Regions from separate parts of the Homo sapiens genome. Here region 2 is linked to region 1. The links are contacts of gene promoters, found by promoter capture Hi-C in blood cells and fetal thymus (Javierre and others, 2016). All regions are on one chromosome and are shown on one strand. The core of a region is centred on a gene start or on the middle of the fragment in contact, and the rest is flanking DNA. Distances in the headings are between cores, read along the strand shown. Region 1 holds the start of LCAT (lecithin-cholesterol acyltransferase). Region 2 overlaps DUS2 (dihydrouridine synthase 2).

Evidence for each region. The method cuts DNA at HindIII sites, captures the fragments that hold promoters and counts their contacts. A CHiCAGO score of 5 or more calls a contact.
Region 2: a fragment that was not itself captured here is called in contact with the fragment with the promoter of LCAT in region 1 in 1 of 17 cell types (non-activated CD4 T cells); the score reaches 5.3 in non-activated CD4 T cells.

What each region holds. Positions count from the first base shown.
Region 1 is chr16:67,942,870-67,948,570 of GRCh38, forward strand. It overlaps LCAT (lecithin-cholesterol acyltransferase), which reads right to left and starts at 1,251. Exons shown (of 6, transcript NM_000229.2): 1 at 1,079-1,251; 2 at 187-343; 3 at 1-107. The coding sequence starts at 1,232. It overlaps SLC12A4 (solute carrier family 12 member 4), which reads right to left. Exons shown (of 24, transcript NM_005072.5): 14 at 5,192-5,290; 15 at 4,800-4,919; 16 at 4,462-4,566; 17 at 4,068-4,236; 18 at 3,569-3,764; 19 at 3,302-3,471; 20 at 3,082-3,213; 21 at 2,895-3,002; 22 at 2,500-2,684; 23 at 2,218-2,351; 24 at 605-2,062. The coding sequence ends at 1,971. RefSeq lists an enhancer at 1-382. The HindIII fragment of the contact is 31,685 bases long and covers 931-5,701 here.
Region 2 is chr16:68,027,312-68,032,776 of GRCh38, forward strand. The region is part of intron 2 of DUS2 (dihydrouridine synthase 2); the gene reads left to right. Among named protein-coding and RNA genes, the nearest start is that of DUS2, 6.8 kb to the left of the region's middle. The HindIII fragment of the contact is 2,127 bases long and covers 627-2,753 here.

The DNA of each region.
Region 1 (5,701 bases), core at 1-2,500:
TGCTGCTGTCCAGGTACTCCACAGAGTAGGTCTTGCCAAAGCCAGGGACGCGGATCTGGACACCAGGGGCGTTGGACACGAGCCCAGAGCTCCGGTTGTAGACAACCCTGCGGGGCGGGGGTGCCACTCAGCAGCCAGTAGCCAAGGGGCAGCGTGTTGGGGCTAGGGTGGAGCACATGGCTGTACCTGGTGTTATCGATCCAGCAGTCTACCCCAAGGGGTAGGAACATGTTGAGATCCAGCCAGATGGTGAAGAAGTCCTCTGTCTTGCGGTAGCACATCCAGTTCACCACATCTGGTTTGTCCAGCTTGGCTTCTAGCTGATTCCCCAGGCAGCCGGGCACTGTGAGCAGCAGCCCTCACTCTGGACTCTGGATTCCCCCCGTGACCCTTACCCCCGTCACCCCAGATGCTGCAGTGACCAGACCCACCCCCCACCTCCCATACCCTCAACCCCCAGGTACAAAGCACACTTACCCTCCCCTGCTTACACCCCCTCTCCCTGCTGTCCCCCCAGTAGCCAAAGCCCAGGCTTCCCTGAGGAAGGGAAGGCGCTGAGGTGCTGAGGCCAAGGCCGCTGACCCCTGCCTCTGCAGAGCAAACACCCAGTCTGGCGCTCCTTTATTGCCAAAGTCCAAGGTGGGAACAGATAGGTCTGGGGGCATGGGGGCTGGGCCTAATAGGGGCCGGGCATGGATGGGCCTCTCCTGCTCACCGATCCTGGGCTGGGCATCTTGTCCTTGGTGGGTGGGGGCCAAGGAAGGAGTGGTGGGGCTTGGCCCAGAGTCTGGTGTGGCTGTGACTGACCACAGCTTGTGATGCCCCAGCCAAGACCTCAGGCACACCCCGTCCCCCACTCCGCCCCCCCTGGGTTAGACAACTGAGAGTCACAGTGTGGTGGGAGAAGGGACGTCATTCCTCTAAGGGACAAGCTTTTGGCCCCTCCCCACACCAGGGCAGGTACTTATGTCGGGGCTTATGCAGGGCAGAAGGGCTTTGGCCAGGTCAGCTGCCAGGGGCTGGGGCCCAGGCTCCCCAGGGTCTGGCGTGGTGCATCAGGGGCCTGGTGGGGGCTTACCGAGGATGACGGGCCGTGTGTGGTTACTGAGCTCAGCCTTGGGCGTGGTGTGCGGGGGGAAGAGCACATTGAGGAGCCAGAAGGGGGCGGCAGGAGGGAGCAGCAGCCCCAGCAGCAGCGTCACCCACTGCCATGGGGAGCCGGGCGGCCCCATTCCAGCCCTGGTGCCTACTGCCAGAGAAAGCGGCACTGGGCTGTCCTTATCTGGTGTGGGAGTGGGAGGGGCCCTAGGGCCAGTGGGAGGGACGGCCTGGCCAGTGGGGGTTGTGGCCAGAGATTGCCGGAAAGGGGCACAGCCTCAGGGAGCCGGCTCTGGGCCTGGGTTCAGTTCCGCCTTCTTCTCTTGGCGCCAGGGGAAACAGAGCCGGGGCAGCAGGAGGCCCAGAACTACACAATGTTTTATTGAAAAAGTCAGGCCTCAGCTCAGCTGTCTCCATTCGGCTCAGCTTGGTGGGGGGCCCTGCCCATAGTAGACTGAGCCAGATCTTCCTGCAGGCAGCTGGGCTGGACTCCCTCCCTGGCTACCCTTCCCTTCGTCTCTGATGGTGACATCCAAACAATAAATATGCAATAAATAGCGCTCCTGGGCTGGGCCGGGCCGGCTGCCTTCAAACCCCACTCGGCCCCTACCAGTCTTCTCTGGCCAGGACAGGCCTACTGGGGTGCTAGATAGTAAAGTCCCCAAACATCCCAGGGTCCCACAAGACCTGGGATCCATCTCCATTTTGAGGCCCAGGCCTGGTTTCCAAGGAGACCTAGCAAAGCTGGGTCCAGGACAGGGCCAGGCAAGCAGGGCTGGCAGGTGGGTGCTGGGAAGAGGCTGTTACCCCAGACCACAGCTTGTTATGTCCTGGCCAAGACCTCGACTCCAGGCCACAAGATGACACTGGGCTCAGGAGTAGATGGTGATGACTTCACGGCCACCACCGCGCACCAACAGCACCCGCTCAAGGCCCTCGGTCAGCACCTCGAGGAACTCCATGTCTGCAGGGCCTCAAGTCAAGGAGGCAACAACAGAATCAACGGGCAACCCGGGCCACCTGGGCCATGCCCACCCAGGGGTGCCCAGGAGAGAAGCCGCTGGCTTGACCTCCCATGCTATCCACCTCCCAACTGCCTGCCTCTCCACAAAGGGATACAGTTCTCGTCGCCCTCACTGTTCCTGGGTGGGCCAGGCATGTTTAGGAGAACCAGGCGGGCGTCGTGGGAGCGCGTGACAATGACTTCATTGAGCTTCACAGCAGTGTGCATGCGCCGCACATTGGATTGGTCCCTACACGTAGTGTAGCCAGTCACAGGTCGCCATGAGCCATCCTGCAAGGAGGGTCCCCACCCCTGGCCCATCTAACACTACTTGTCTGCCCCACCCCACCTCCACCCCTAGATTCCAGTGCCGCTGGGGCTGTTTTTGCTGCACTCACGGCTTAATGTGCACCAGCTCCCGGAAATTGTCAGGGGCATGGCTGGGGTCCCAGGTCTCAGTCATGTACTTGTCCCTGGTCCACGTCATCTGGATCTTGTCAGCCCCCACTGCAGACTCATCTTCCTCGTCCGAGTACAGGCTCTCCAGCCGCAGGGCCGAGTGCCGATCCTTGACCAGCTGGGCCTGAGGACAATTGCAGGAGATAGCCTTGGTCCCATAGGAAAAGGGGGATGGGGCCTGTCTGGCCCAATGTGACCACCTTGCCTCCGGGAAATGAGCACTAGCTTGGGTAGGGCTGCGGTGAGTCATTCTGATTCCTCCGCACCCACCGATGCGGTCTCCAAAGGCCTGACCCTGCCACCCGCCCTGGCGTGAACCACAAAGGGCACTGACTTCTCGCTCCCGCTCAGTCTTGGTCAGTCTCATCTGCCGCAGCATCTGCGACCGCTGCTCCATCATCAGCGTCCGCTCGTAGGTGTATGCAGAGATGTCACTGTTATGCTGGGGACAGGGTTGGCCGTGAGGACCCAGCTGCACGGGACATGGTATCCACGGGGCCAGGGCAGGGCAGAGGGCTCACCATCTCCACCACCTCCACCTCGGCCTCAAGGCGCAGATGGTACAGAAAGACAGCCAGGTCCTTCTTCATCTGGATGCTGTTGTCATCCATCTGGGCCACTGTGAAGATGCGCATCCGGCACTTCCTCCAGACCTGAGGCAAGGGACCAGGTGGGCGGTTTGGTCACAGCTGCTCCTCCAAGGGCCTAGCCCCTCTCATCTGCACCCACCCCCTGGTCTACCTTATGCTGGCGCAGCAGGAAGGGCAGAAGCATGAGCATGCCACCATCGTGCACGATCCACCACACGTCTATGTGGCCCTCCAGGTAGCGCTCGTGGTTGCTGGGGTAGAAGGCGATGTTCTTGGGCACGAGCAGGGCCAGGTGGGCAGCCGTAGTGCAGCGCACGGTGTCTGGGGAGGAGGAGCACGGCTGACCACCAGTCTGTGGCCCTCCGCCCACTGCCACCTCACTTCACCCCTGCCCACCAGGCCCCAGGCCTTCACACACCAATGAAGGTCTTCCAGGCACGGGGGTCCTCGCTCTGTCGCCAGCCGTAGGGCCAGCCCAGCACCACGGAGTTATGCCGCATGCCTCCCAGGCCACAGGACTGGATGAGGTGGGCCAGCCCCTCCCGCACCTTGCTGGCCACCACCACCTGGCAGAAGCCCTTCACCTTCTCAATTTCCATCATGTTCTTGATGGTCTGTGGGGAACACACCCAGGGCCAATGGGAGGCCATCAGCTTCCTGCCTCTGGGCTCCCTCCCAAGGCCCCTCGGGAACAAAACGACTTTTGGGTGGAGGAGGGCCTGGGGGCAACAAGCTGCCTACCCAGAGGCCAAGTTTTCAAGATGGGACTGCTGGCTCCCCCTTGTGCCAGCTCTCAGGTGGCAGCAGTGCTGGCTGCCTGGCTGGCCACCCTGGCCAAGACTGGGCCCTCCCCTCCGTGCCAGCTGCAGTCCAGACCCCTGTAGTCTGGCTCAGCTCTCCCTCCCCAAAGCAAGTACCTGCTCGGCGGCCTGAGCCTCGCCATAGCTCTCCAAGAAGCTCCCCTGGATGACAGAACCAACAATGGTCAGGCCCTTGCCAGCCTTGAGCTGGGAGGCGAAGGTGAGGAGCCGCGGGTACTTCACGTGGAGGTCCTCGTCCAGCTTCAGCAGCACCAGCAGCTGCGGCCTGCAGTGGCCGGGTGGGGGGAGCCTGAGACCAGGGCCGGCCGTTCTAGGGAGCCCCTCCTCTTCTTCCCTTCTCGGGTCGTGGTCCCTGCAGGTTTGGGTAGCATGGCCCAGGAGGGTGCCCCGGGCAGCCCCAGGATGGGGAGCCGGCACCTCTCGACCCTCTGACCCCGACAGCGACCCCTAAGAACCTCTGCGCCCTGGCCAGGGTCTGGCGGGAACTCACCGCCAGTTCTTGGTGTGAGGAGGCCCCTCCTCCAGCCGCAACAGCGCGTAGCGGGCAGCGCTCAGGGACAGGCCTCGGATCCCGTCACCCCACTCCTTCTCAGCCCTGCAGATTCCACCACAGCTGGTGAGCCCCTGGTGCCGCCCAGGGGGTTCTGTCTATGTGGATGCGAGGTGGAGGGGTTCTGCCCCTCAAGACCACCCAGGGGTCCTGAGTTACAGTCCCCAGTCCTGGCACCCACGGTGGCCCAGCTCCCTGCCCACCCCAATGCCAGACCACCCTGCCTGCTCGGCCGGGCCCCCTCAGCTGGCAGAGGCCAGGTGGCAGTGCTCACTCACCCTTGGTACTCGATGTATTTGTAGATCATGCCGGCGATGAGCATGGCCACCAGGGCATAGTACCAGGAGGAGACAAACATAAGGGCCAGGCAGAGACTCATGCCCAGGAAGGACAGCGCCCTGGACGAGAGGGGAGGGCAGAGTCAGGGCAGGACCAGGAGGACCCCTGGCCACAGCCTGGCCCATGCCCTGGTAGCCCTGTCAGGTCCCGGGTGGGAGGTCCCAGGTGGGTGGTCAGGTCACTGGGTGTAAGACCTAGGTCCAGTCCCCCGCAGCCCTATAATCTCCCTCCCCACAGTGTTTCAAGAGCTCCCTACCCAGGAAACCCAAGCCTCACCCAGAATGAGGCTCCTGGCCTCCCCAGGGTCTCCCGTGTCAGAGGCATGGCTCACCAGTGATAGTACTTGAACCGGGGCCGCCAGTTGGGGGTCCTCAGGAGTGTCTGCACCGCACAGGCGAGGTTCACGAACAGGTAGCACATCAGAAAGAACCTGCGGCACAGAGGGCGGTTGGCGAAGAGCAGCCTCCTCGGCAGCTGGGGACCTGATGTCAGGCTGGGCCTGGCCCAGAAACGGGGCGTGGCCCGGCCCTGCCCTGCATGGCTCAGCAAGGTCTTCTCAACCTCATTGCTGCCACCTCCATGGCCTGAGGCAATGAGACTACTGTGGAGGAGTCCTCGGAGCCAGATCGCAGAGGATGGGCAAGGGTTTGCTGTTGGAGGAGGTAGGAAGGGGAGTAACAGGGCAGAGCTGAAGAGGGTGGTGCAGGGGCAGCAGGAAGAGCTCAGTGCCTGGAGACTCTAGGCCACATTCAGGCCTCTGGCCTGAGTGACCAGCTGGATGAGAGGCTGCCATGCATGAAGGGGAGGATGGAAGATAAGCTGGACCATTTGAATGCAACCA
Region 2 (5,465 bases), core at 440-2,939, 85 kb after region 1:
TACTGTGACCTCCGCCTCCCGGGTTCAAGTGATTCTCTTGCCTCAGCCTCCCAAGTAGCTGGGATTACAGGCATGCGCCACCACACCCGGCTAATTTTGTATTTTTAGTAGAGACGTGGTTTCTCCATGTTGGTCAGGCTGGTCTGGTCTCAAACTCCCGACTTTAGGTAATCCGCCTGCCTTGGCCTCCCAAAGTGCTGGGATTACAGGCGTGAGCCACCTCACCCGGCTGCCATTAACTTCTTTTTACAGCAAACACTAAGCATCTACCATATGCCAGATTGTATGCTCTCTGATGAGGATCTGGTGATGAACAAGCCACAGTGCCTATTTTCACCTTACAGTGAAGAAGGCATATTGACAGATAGTTGCTCTTCTATTAATAGTTGCCAGGATAGCTCCATGCCAGGACAGGAATGAGCTCAGAGATGCCTTTACCCTGTTTTGGGAGATGTTGGTCAGAGAAGGCTTCCAGGAGGAGGTGATGAGGTTCTAAAAGTCTACAGGGAGTCAGCCAGGTGGAAGAATAGGGACGTGGCCCCTGGGCAGGGACAGCTTGTTCAGAGATCCCATACTGAGAGAGAGCAGGCCAGGCTGGGGAACTAGAAATATTTAAGAATAGCTGAAGCTTAGCATGGGGGAGTTCTGAGGGCAGGAGGCAGGTGATGAAAGAGGCTTCTATGGAAGGTGGAGACCAGACCTTATATTTACTGTGTTAAAGAGTGTAGACTTAATTTTACAGGCAGTAGGGAAGGCGTCCAGAAATGGAACTATCATGTTTTGCGTATCATATCTTTGCGTTTGGAAAGAGCCCTTTGGCTGGAAGGAGCATGGATTGGAAGTGATAAGCCTGGAGGCAGAGAGACTGGTTTGGAGACTGTTGTCATGGTTCAGTTGATAGATGATGGCAGTTGTAGAGCTGAGAAGCTCTTTGAGGTTAAGAGCTTAGTGCTTTCCGTGTCTTTATACCTCACACGCTGCCTTGATCTTAAAAGAGCTAGCAGATGTTTGTCGATATAACAACATAATAATAGACGTTAGAGGCCAGGCGCGGTGGCTCACACCTGTAATCCCAGCACTTTGGGAGGCCAAGGCGGGTGAATCACGAAGTCAGGAGTTTGAGACCAGTCTGGCCAACATGGTGAAACCCCATCCCTACTAAAAAAAAATACAAAAAATTAGCTGGGCGTGGTGGTGGGCACCTGTAATCCCAGCTACTCGAGAGGCTGAGGCAAGAGAATTGCTTGAACCCGGGAGGCGGAGGTTGCAGTGAGCTGAGATCACGCCACTGCACTCCATCCTGGGAGACAGTAGGAGACTCCGTCTCAAAACAAACAAACAAACAAAAAATAGAGTGTTGAAACCGTGAAAGCATGATGAGAGTGGCTAACATTTATTAAGCCTTTACTATGTGCTGAGAACTGTGGTACACCATGGAATTCACTCTTCACAGCATTTCCTTTGACTCCCATAGTGGAGCCTCATATTCCACAAGGAGAAGCTGAGGCTCAGCTGGGTTAATTAATGTGCCCGAGGCACAGCTGGGATTCAAGTGAAGGTCTGTCCAATTCCAGAGCTCAGGATCTTAACTATGAAATGCTGTATCAGGGCTGGGCACAGTGGGTCACGCCTGATTCCAGCACTTCAGAAGGTTAGGCAGGAGGATCGCTAGAGGCCAGGAGTTGGAGACTAGCCTGAGCAACATAGCAAGACTGTATCGCTACAGAAAAATTTAAACACAAAATTAGCTAGATGTGGTGGAACATGCCTGTAGTCCCAGTTACTCCGGATGCTGAGATGGGAGGATCACTAGAGCCCAGGAGTTTGGGACTGCAGTGAGCCATGATTGTGCCGCTGCACTCCAGCCTGGGCAACACAGCAAGGTCCCATCTCTAAAAAAAAAAAGCTATATCACCTCTTTCTCCTCAAATCTAACAAATCATTTTTACTTTTTGTCATGTGCATGTATTTTGTTTTCTGTTTTTAATTTTTGTTTTTAATTTTTATTTTTAATAGAGATGGGGTCTTACTATGTTGCCCTGACTGGTCTTGAACTCTTGGGCTCAAATGATCCTCTTGCCTCAACCTCCCAGTGTTAGGATTACAGGTGTGAGCTACCACACCTGGTGTATTTACACTTTTTTTATTTTTTTGAGGCAGAGTCTTGCTCCAATTTCCAGGCTGGAGTGCAGTGATACGATCTTGGCTCACTGCAGCCTCCACCTCACAAGTTCAAGTGATTCTCCTGCCTCAGCCCCCCAAGTAGGTGGGATAACAGGCCTGCACCACCATACCCGGCTAATTTTTGTATTTTTTGGTATAGATGGGGTTTGCCATGTTGCCCAGGCTGGTCTTGAACTACTGAGCTCAGGTAATCTGCCCACCTTGGCCTCCCAAAGTGTTGGGATTATAGGCATGAGCCACTGGACCCAGCCACATGTTCAGATTAGGAAATAAGATAATTCTGTAAATACTTGATTCTAGTTGACTTTCCAAATTTGAATTTTAGAGCTGGATGCAGTGGCTCACGCCTGTAATCCCAACACTTTGGGAGGCTGAGGCAGGTGGAGTACCTAGGACCACAGGTGTGTACCACCATGCCCCGCTAATTTTTTGTAGAGGTGGTGTCTTATTATGTTGCCTGGGCTGGTCTTGAACTCCTGGCCTCAAACGATCCTCCCGCCTCAGCCTCCCAAAGTGCTGGGATTACAGGTGTGAGCCACCATGCCTGGCCAGAAATTGCTTTTTAAGCAAGCTTTGTCTTTGGGGAAAATTGACAGGGAAGGGAATGGTAAAGTTTGTTTATACTCATTATTTTTCCTGAATAGTGTTATGTTCAATCTGAAAGCACTATAATTAATGGGATTATGAAAGTTGCAGATACCAGGATGAAACCGCTTTTGTCAAAATAGGACAAGGAAGGTGTGAAGTAGAGGAAGCTCATGCTTACATGTCTGAGATAAGAACTGTTTCCAAGGATTTTCTAAAAACCCCACCGGAGGCCAGGAGTGGTGACTCACATCTGCAATCCCAGCACTTTGGGAGGCTGAGGCGGGTGGATCACTTGAGGTCAGGAGTTCAAGACGAGTCTGGCCAACATGGTGAAACCCCGTCTCTACTGAAAACACAAAAATTGGCCGGGCATGGTGGTTAATTTTTGTCCCAGCTAATCAGGAGGCTGAGGCAGGAGAATTGCTCGAACCTCGGAGGTGGAGATTGCAGTGAGCCAAGATCATGCCACTGTACTCTAGCCTGGGTGACAGAGTGAGACTCCATCTCAAAAAATAAATAAATAAATAAATAAAAACCCACTAGAAATCCCTTCATGTCTTTCTTGAATTACCTGCTTTGCATGGCTTGCATGTTTTGCATATGTATATATATTTCTATGACAAAAGTTTATCAGTAGACATTTTGGTTTTCTTTTTCTTTTTTTTGGAGACAGGGCCTTGCTCTGTCACCCAGGCTGGAGTACAGTTGCACAATCATGGCTCACTGCTGCATCGAACTCTTGGACTCCCAATGATTCTTCTGCTTAAGCCTCCCAGAGTGGCTGGGACTGCAGGCACCTTCCATCACTCCTGGCTAGTTAAAAAATATATATATATTTTTGGTAGAGATGGGATCTTGCTATGTTGCCCAGGCTGGTCCCAAACTCCTGGCCTTGAGTGATCCTCCTGCCTTGGCCTCCCAAAGTGATGGGATTACAGGTGTGAGCCACCTTGCCTGGCATAGACATTTTTTAGGACTATTGTAATTCAGATAAAATGCTCTGGAAAGAATACTTGCCCAGTAATGGCATCTCCACCAGTGAACTGAAGACAACTCTGGCTTTGATCCTCTAGGAAACTCATGAACTCTTTTTTTTCTTTTTTGGAGATGAGTCTCGCTCTGTCACCAGGCTGGAATGCAGTGGCGTGATCTCTCACTGCAACCTCTGCCTCCCGGGTTCAAGCGATTCTCCTGCCTCAGCTTCCTGAGTAGCTGCGACTACAGGCATGCGCCGCCACACCCAGCTAATTTTTGTATTTTTAGTAGAGACGGGGTTTCACCATGTTGGCCAGGATGGTCTTGATCTCTTTACCTCGTGATCCGCCTGCCTTGGCCTCCCAAAGTGCTAGGATTACAGGCATGAGCCACTGTGTCTGGCCATGAACTCTGTTTCTAAGCAACTTATATAAATCTCTCCCTTTCTGCCAATAAAAGCTTCCTTTTCCCCTTCTGTCACCAGATGTACTTGTGGCTTGCCCTTCTGTGCATCCTGGATTATAATCCTTTTCTCTCATTCTCAAATAAACTCAACATGTTTGGAGGTATTTTTCTTTAATGTCTTTTTTTTTTAAGGTTAACAGGATATTATGTCCATGTAACTGAAGTTAAGGTTATTATTTTTTATTTTTTGAGATGGAATCTCACTCTGTTGCCCAGGCTGGAGGGCAGTGGTGCGATCTTGGCTAACTGCAACCTCTGCCTCCCTGGTTTGAGTGATTCTCCTGCTTCAGCCTCCCGAGTAGCTGGGATTGCAGGTGCACACCACCATGCCTGGCTAATTTTTTTATTTTTAGTAGAGACAGGGTTTCATCATGTTGGCCAGGCTGGTCTGGAACTCCTGATCTCAGGTGATCCTCCTGCCTTGGCCTCCCAAAGTGCTGGGATTATAGGCATGAGCCACCTCGCCCAGCCAAGGTTACTGTCTAAGAAATTGAGCGTAATAGAGGAGACCAGCCCTTAAAAGGAATGGTAGAAGAGATTGGAAATGAGTGACTAAAGTGGTGATGTGGGTGTGATCTCAGGGTGGGGTGAGTGGTTGTGGCAGTAACTGGGAAAGGCATGGGGGCTGCCTAGTTTTTCTCAGAGGAGCCTCCTTAGAGGCAGGGTGTGTCAGGCACCTCTGACTGAGTGCCAGAGGAAGTTGCCAGACCAACCACCCTACAAGAGGCTGTCCTCTTGGCTACCACAGTGGTAAGTATTCAGTCACACCTTACTAAGCAGCCTCTAAAGGTCATGTACCTGGCTCAGTGCTAGAAATCTGGCAGTGAACTAAGCAGCCACACTCCTGTTCTTGTAGAGCTTGTTGTCCTGGTGGTCTCCAGGAGGAGCTGAGGATTGAACAAGAAACTACAGCAGTCAGTGTGGACACATGGAGTGTAACTGAGCTGCAGAGAAATGTAGGGTGTTTGGAAAGCATGGGACCAGGGACCTGAATTTGATTTTCTGTAGGGACGTATCTTCACAAAGGGGGCATTCAAGGACAAGGGGACCTTAGCATGGGCATGCATGACTGAGTTGGAGGAGTATTCCAGACAGAACTGCAAGTGGGCAGGCCCCAGGGAAGCAGACAGTTTGGTGTGGGAGACTTTAAAGGAAGGCCAGGGTGGCCGGGCACAGTGGCTCACACCTGTAATCCCAGCTCTTTGGAAGGCCAAAGTGGGTGGATCACCTGAGGTCAGGAGTTAGCTGGGTGT